Linked DNA regions of Homo sapiens: region 2 is linked to region 1. Evidence: promoter capture Hi-C in human tissues and cell types (Jung and others, 2019). All regions are on one chromosome and are shown on one strand. Each heading gives the region's core, a stretch centred on a gene start or on the middle of the fragment in contact. The rest is flanking DNA. Distances are from core to core; before and after follow the strand shown.

Region 1 (2,805 bases), core at 64-2,563:
ATCCCAAAAAAGACTACTCAAACCTCTCCCCAAGAGCAAATTCTAAGAAGGAAGAATACCACCTCCCTTTTCTTTACCACAAACCCCTGACTTACCGTCTCTAGCAACCAGAGAGGGCTGGGGGTAGGGGAGAGGGTGGTTAGAAAACAGAACGCACGACTCGGTCATATCCTAGCCCGGCCCATCCCAAACTTCACCTAGGCACGGCGAGAAGCAGGACGGCATCAGGAATTCCTAGGAAATGGTCTCACCCCATCAGAGAACATTTTTAACTTCCTAGAAGCCACCATTTCCCCGGGGCATTATCACACACTCCCACCCGGACATATTACCTAAGAGAGTACTTATAAAAAGAGCGTAACACACACACAAAGAAATACACAGTACTTGAAGCGGGCAGCTCCGGCTCAGGCGGCGCGGGGAAGCCCGGAGACCACGCGGAGCCGCGGCCAAGTTGCCACCGCTATCGCCCCGACGGTGAAGGCGCGGCCGCAGGCGGCTGGAAAAGCAGCGCGCGGGGCTCCAGCTCCAGCCCCACGCCCGGACCCTCGGAGCAGTAAAGCCCGGCTCGGTGGCCCAGCCTCTCCCGGAGGTCTCTGGCCTCGGCCAGAGCAATAAGGTGGATCGGTGCTTCCCACCCTTCCAGCTCCGCCCTCCCGACCACATTCCTGAGAAGCCCTACTCCCGCGACGCCGCGCCCGGGAGGAGGCAGGAGCGCGACGCTGCGGCCGCAGGGCAGGAGCGTAGTCGGCCCCGCGCCCTCCCGCCCCCTGGCCCCGGCCCGGGCCCGCGAGGCGCCTCTGGGGCGAGGTCGCGGCGGCCGCCCCGCCACAGGTAGCGCCAGCCCCCGCCCGCCGCCGCTCCGGCGCCCCGGGCAGGCCCGCTCCAGGTACCTGGATGAACTGGATGGTGAGCGCCGACTTGCCCACGCCGCCCCCGCCGACCACCACGAGCCGGTACTTCTCCTGGCCGGAGCCGTCCCGCCAGCCGGCCGCGGCCATGGGGACGCTACAGAGCCCAGCCTGACTGCGCCGAGCCGCCGCTGCCGCCCGCCCTAGGCCCGGCTCCGGGGACGTGTGCGGCCGGCGGGCTGCGGGCGAGCGGCCGGGCTGGGGTCCCGGGTACCGGGAGGCGTCTGGAGGGCCGGTCAGCGCGGTAGCGCGGCGCTGGGGACTGGCTGGGTACCGCCCGAGGCGCGGAGAAGCGGGGTGACGGCACGGGCCAGGGGCGGCAGCGGCCGGGGGGCGCGCTCCTCTACGCGTCTCCGCAGCGCCTGCCGAACGCAGCCTCCAGCGCCGCCACAAATGGCCGTCTGGGGGCCGGGCTGCCAGGCTGAGGTGCTGCATATGCATGAGGGGGCGGGGAGGGGCGGGGCCGCGCCGCTTGGGGCTGAGGTTCGGGAGGTAACCCGGGCTTCAGACCCCCACGGACACACCGCTCTAATCCCTAGCCAGTGAGCGAGTGCGTGAGAGTGTGGGAGTGGGTGTCAGTTGGGAGTGGGACGAAGGCAGAAAGAGTGTGTCACCCTAATTGTCTATGTAAGGGATTGTGTGGATGAAAAATACAATATGTGACGGCGTGTGCGAAAAATAGGGCTGTTGGCATATTAACTCAATTTTATAGGAGAGTACATACCCTGCTTTAAGAGTACAGATGGTGACCATATTTGTGTGAAAAACAGTATGTGACAGTGATTGAGGATTAGAGCTGTGTCACAGTAATTGAGTGTGTGATGGGCTGGTGGTTGTGACAGTGTGAAGAATGGGACAGTGGCTGAGCATGGAGAATAAGTCAGTGATTGAGCTTGCATGGGCAAGACGGAATGTGACAGATTTTGTATGTGTCAGTACAGTGTCATAGTGGCTATGTTTATGTGTGACAAATGTGCAGTAATTGGATATGAGGAGTGTGAGTGCGAGGGGTTGAACTCCTGGCCTCAAGCAATCCTCCCGCCTCGGCCTCCCAAAGTGCTGGAATTACAGGTGTGAGTCACTGCACCCGGCCTCATGGGGTTTTTAATAAGAATTAAATGAGCACATAAAACAGTGCTGCTACACAGGAAGCATTTACAGCAATCTTGGAACATGACTGCAAGTTCTTGGACTTCACTTGGTAACTCATTTGGAACCAGTAGAATGCAGCAGAAGAGATGCTGCCTAATTTCCCAGGCTAGATCAGAAGAGGCCATGCAGCTGTTCTCTTGGTATTCTCACTCCGGGAGGAACAAAGTCAGAAGTTTGACTATCATAAGACTGCCATGCTAAAGAGGCTACATGTAGGCATGCCAGTCGAAGTCTGATTGATGGCCAGGAGCAACATGCCATTTAAAAAAAAAAAAAAAAAGTCCCACTGAGCTCCCACCAGATCACCAGCATCACCTGCCAGCCATCTAAGTGAGACATCTTGGACACTCAGCCTAATCGAGCCTTCCAATGACGGCATCCCCTGTTAGCATCTGAATGCAACTGCGTGAGAGACCCCAAGCAAAAATACCCATCCAGGCCAGCCCATCCTGAATTCCTTTTTTAAAAATCTTTTTTTTTTCTTTTTTGAGACAAGATCCCTCTGTCACCCAGGCTGAAGTGTAGTGGCACAATCATGGCCCACTGCAACCTCCAACTTCTGGACTCAAGTGATCCTTCCACCTCAGCCTCCCTAGCAGCTGGGACTACAGGCACATGCCATCAAGATCAGGTAATTTTTTTTTTTTTAAGAGACAAGGTCTCTCTATGTTACCCAGGCTAGTCTCGAACTCCCAAAGTGCTGGGATGGCTGGGCGCAATGGCTCATGCCTGTAATCCCAGC
Region 2 (2,702 bases), core at 24-2,523, 79 kb after region 1:
TCCTGGCCTCAATCCGCCCTCCTGCCTTGGTCTCCCAAAGTGCAAGGATTACAGATGTGAGCCACCATGCCCTGCTCAAAATTATATTTCTTTTCCAACTTTTGCTTTTCCTAAATCTAATAATTGCCTTGGTTTTTCACCTGCTTAATTTTCTTTGTAATTATTACCTATAGTTATTTCTTTGACACTTTACAATAATCTTTCACTACAGATTCCCTTGTAGTCAATTACATCAGGTAATCTGTCTGTTCCAATTTTTCTCTTGAAAAATTGAAAATGAGTCTCCTAGAGACTCCCGGAGACTCATTTTCTTATCTGATTGCACCCTAGCCCTTCTGCTTAGCTGTCTTCCCAGCACTTTTCTTCCCTGTCATCCTGAGAATTCTTTTTTGCCTTTTTCTGAGTTGGGATCCCTGTTGCCTAGAATTTGTATCTTTCTCTTTCTCAGTTTGCACCCCTGTTTGGGAGATATCTGTTCCAGTAGTTTCATCAGTTTTAACCTGATGATACTCCTCAGTGAACCTCTCTTGAATCACCTTACTCTTTGGCCTGATTATGCTCGACACTTGGTGCAATGCTGTGATCCTAGAATCTCTACTGATTGTCACTCTTCAGGTGCTCTTCATCTCTTTCCTTGTTGGATCTTGTTTGTTTGTTTGTTTGTTTACTCCTATATTTTGGTGGGAAAGTGTATATGTCAGAGAAAATTTCTTCATCCTATCTTCACACTTGATTATAGTCTGAAAAGTATAGAATTCTTAGGAAGTATTTGCTTGCAGAATTTTTAAGCCATTGCTCCATTCCCTTCTTGATTCCAATGTTGTTAAGGATCCTCAAGACATTTTGATTCCTGATTGTATACAACCCATTGTTTCTTTTTGGAAGTTTTCAGAATCTTCTCTTATTTATTTATTTATTTATTTATTTATTTATTTATCTTTATTTTAGAGACAGGGTCTCGCTCTGTCACCCAGGCTGAAGTGCAGTGGCAGGATCATAGCTCACTGCAGCCTGGACCTAGTGAGCTTAAGCAATCCTCCTGCCTCAGCCTCCTGAGTAGCTTGGACTACTCAGGCATGCACCACCACACCTGGCTAATTTTTTAATTTGTTGTAGACATAAGGTCTTGCTAGGTTGCCCAAACTGATCTCTAACTCCTGGGCTAAAGTAATCCTCCCAAAGTGTTAGGATTACAGGCATTACAGGATTACAGGATTCCACTACACCCTGCTAGAATCTTCTCTTTTTCTTTGGTGTTCTGAAATTATACAACAGTGTTCTGAATTTCACTAAGTGCTGAGATATGAATATATTTTCATTCACTGTGCTGAGCAACTTCTGGAAGACAAAATCCTCTCCACAATTGGCTCAGCAAGTGAAGAGATCTTAGGAGGTCACATGCCAGCTATTTTACACTTTGGTCCAGAGTGAGATACTAATCACCTCAGCCTGCCTAATTGCTAAGTTCCTGGGAAATGTGAGGAGCAGAACAGAATATTTGGTAAACACCACTATCTCTGACATAGGAAGAGTGGACTATAGAAATTTTGTTATAAAGGGAAGGAGAGATAAGGTAGTAGCTAGGGTGACAGGAGGTGAGTGGATTTTTTGTTTTTCTTTTTTTTTTGAGACAGAGTCTCACTCTGTCGCCCAGGCTGGAGTGCAGTGGCGTGATCTCAGCTCACTGCAACCTCCACCTCCCAGGTTCAAGCAATTCTCCTGCCTCTGCCTCCCAAGTAGCTGGGATTACAGGCCCGTGCCACCACACCCAGCTAATTTTTGTATTTTTAGTAGAGACGGAGTTTCACCATATTGGTCAGGCTGGTCACAAACTCCTGACCTTAGGTGATCCGCCTGCCTTGGCCTCCCAAAGTGTTGGGAATACAGGTGTGAGCCACTATGCCAGGCCTGTTTTTTGTTCTTCTAATTAGAAGAGAATTGCATGTGTTTAGAGGAGAAGGAGTGGTTAATCAAGGGGCATGGTATTGGTCTTGGAGAAGGTGGAAGGAAGAATGATGTGCCTTAGAAAGGAGATCTGACCCTCTTTCTCTGAGACTGGCAGGAAGGAAGTGAAGGAAGTATAGTTAGCTAAATGTGTAGGTGTAGAAGCAGGAAATTGAAGTTCACACCTGATATTTTAAATTTCCTAAGAAGTAGGAAGCAAGTCAATTGCCAAAATTGGTAGTAGTGGTGGTGTGGTGGAGAAGGGACCAGAAGTAGGTTATGGGCGTTCAGGAGCTTGGAGAAGTTTCTTGAATCTATCTCCACTAAGCCATCTGCCTTCGGATGGACAACTATTAATACAATAGCTTCCCATCTGATTTACTTACCTCCATTAAGCCCTTTCAACATACTACAAACAGGCTGACCTTTTTTAAAAGGACGTATCAGATCATGCCACCCTCTGCGTGAAACTGTACACTTGCTCAAAATCCTTGAAATGACCCAAATATTTGGTTCACATTGTCTTCTTAGTCTTAGCCTCAACCTTCCATACACTCTAACAGGAACCCTTTTCATTTCCTTCCTCCTTTCCTCCTTGAGGCCTTCACAGATACTCTTCCTTGCACGAGGAGAGCACTTCCATTTCACTCCTACTCCTTTCACTTGGCTAATTTTAACCCTTTCTTTAGGTCTCGAATTAAATGTCACTTTCTCAGAGAGGCCTTCCCTGATTCTTTGGTCTAGGCTAGGTCTTCCTA

What was found. Contacts are between HindIII fragments. The study calls those that stand out against the background at their distance.
Region 2: a fragment that was not itself captured here is called in contact with the fragment with the promoter of RRAS2 in region 1 in 2 of the 25 tissues and cell types used here (H1 embryonic stem cells and IMR-90 fibroblasts).

The regions. Positions count from the first base shown.
Region 1 is chr11:14,357,870-14,360,674 of GRCh38, forward strand. It overlaps RRAS2 (RAS related 2), which reads right to left and starts at 1,314. Exons shown (of 6, transcript NM_012250.6): 1 at 894-1,314. The coding sequence starts at 1,001. RefSeq lists an enhancer at 144-243 and silencers at 484-603, 644-843, 914-1,413. The HindIII fragment of the contact is 8,284 bases long and covers 191-2,805 here.
Region 2 is chr11:14,436,975-14,439,676 of GRCh38, forward strand. No RefSeq gene overlaps it. Among named protein-coding and RNA genes, the nearest start is that of COPB1, 61 kb to the right of the region's middle. The HindIII fragment of the contact is 7,789 bases long and covers 1-2,702 here.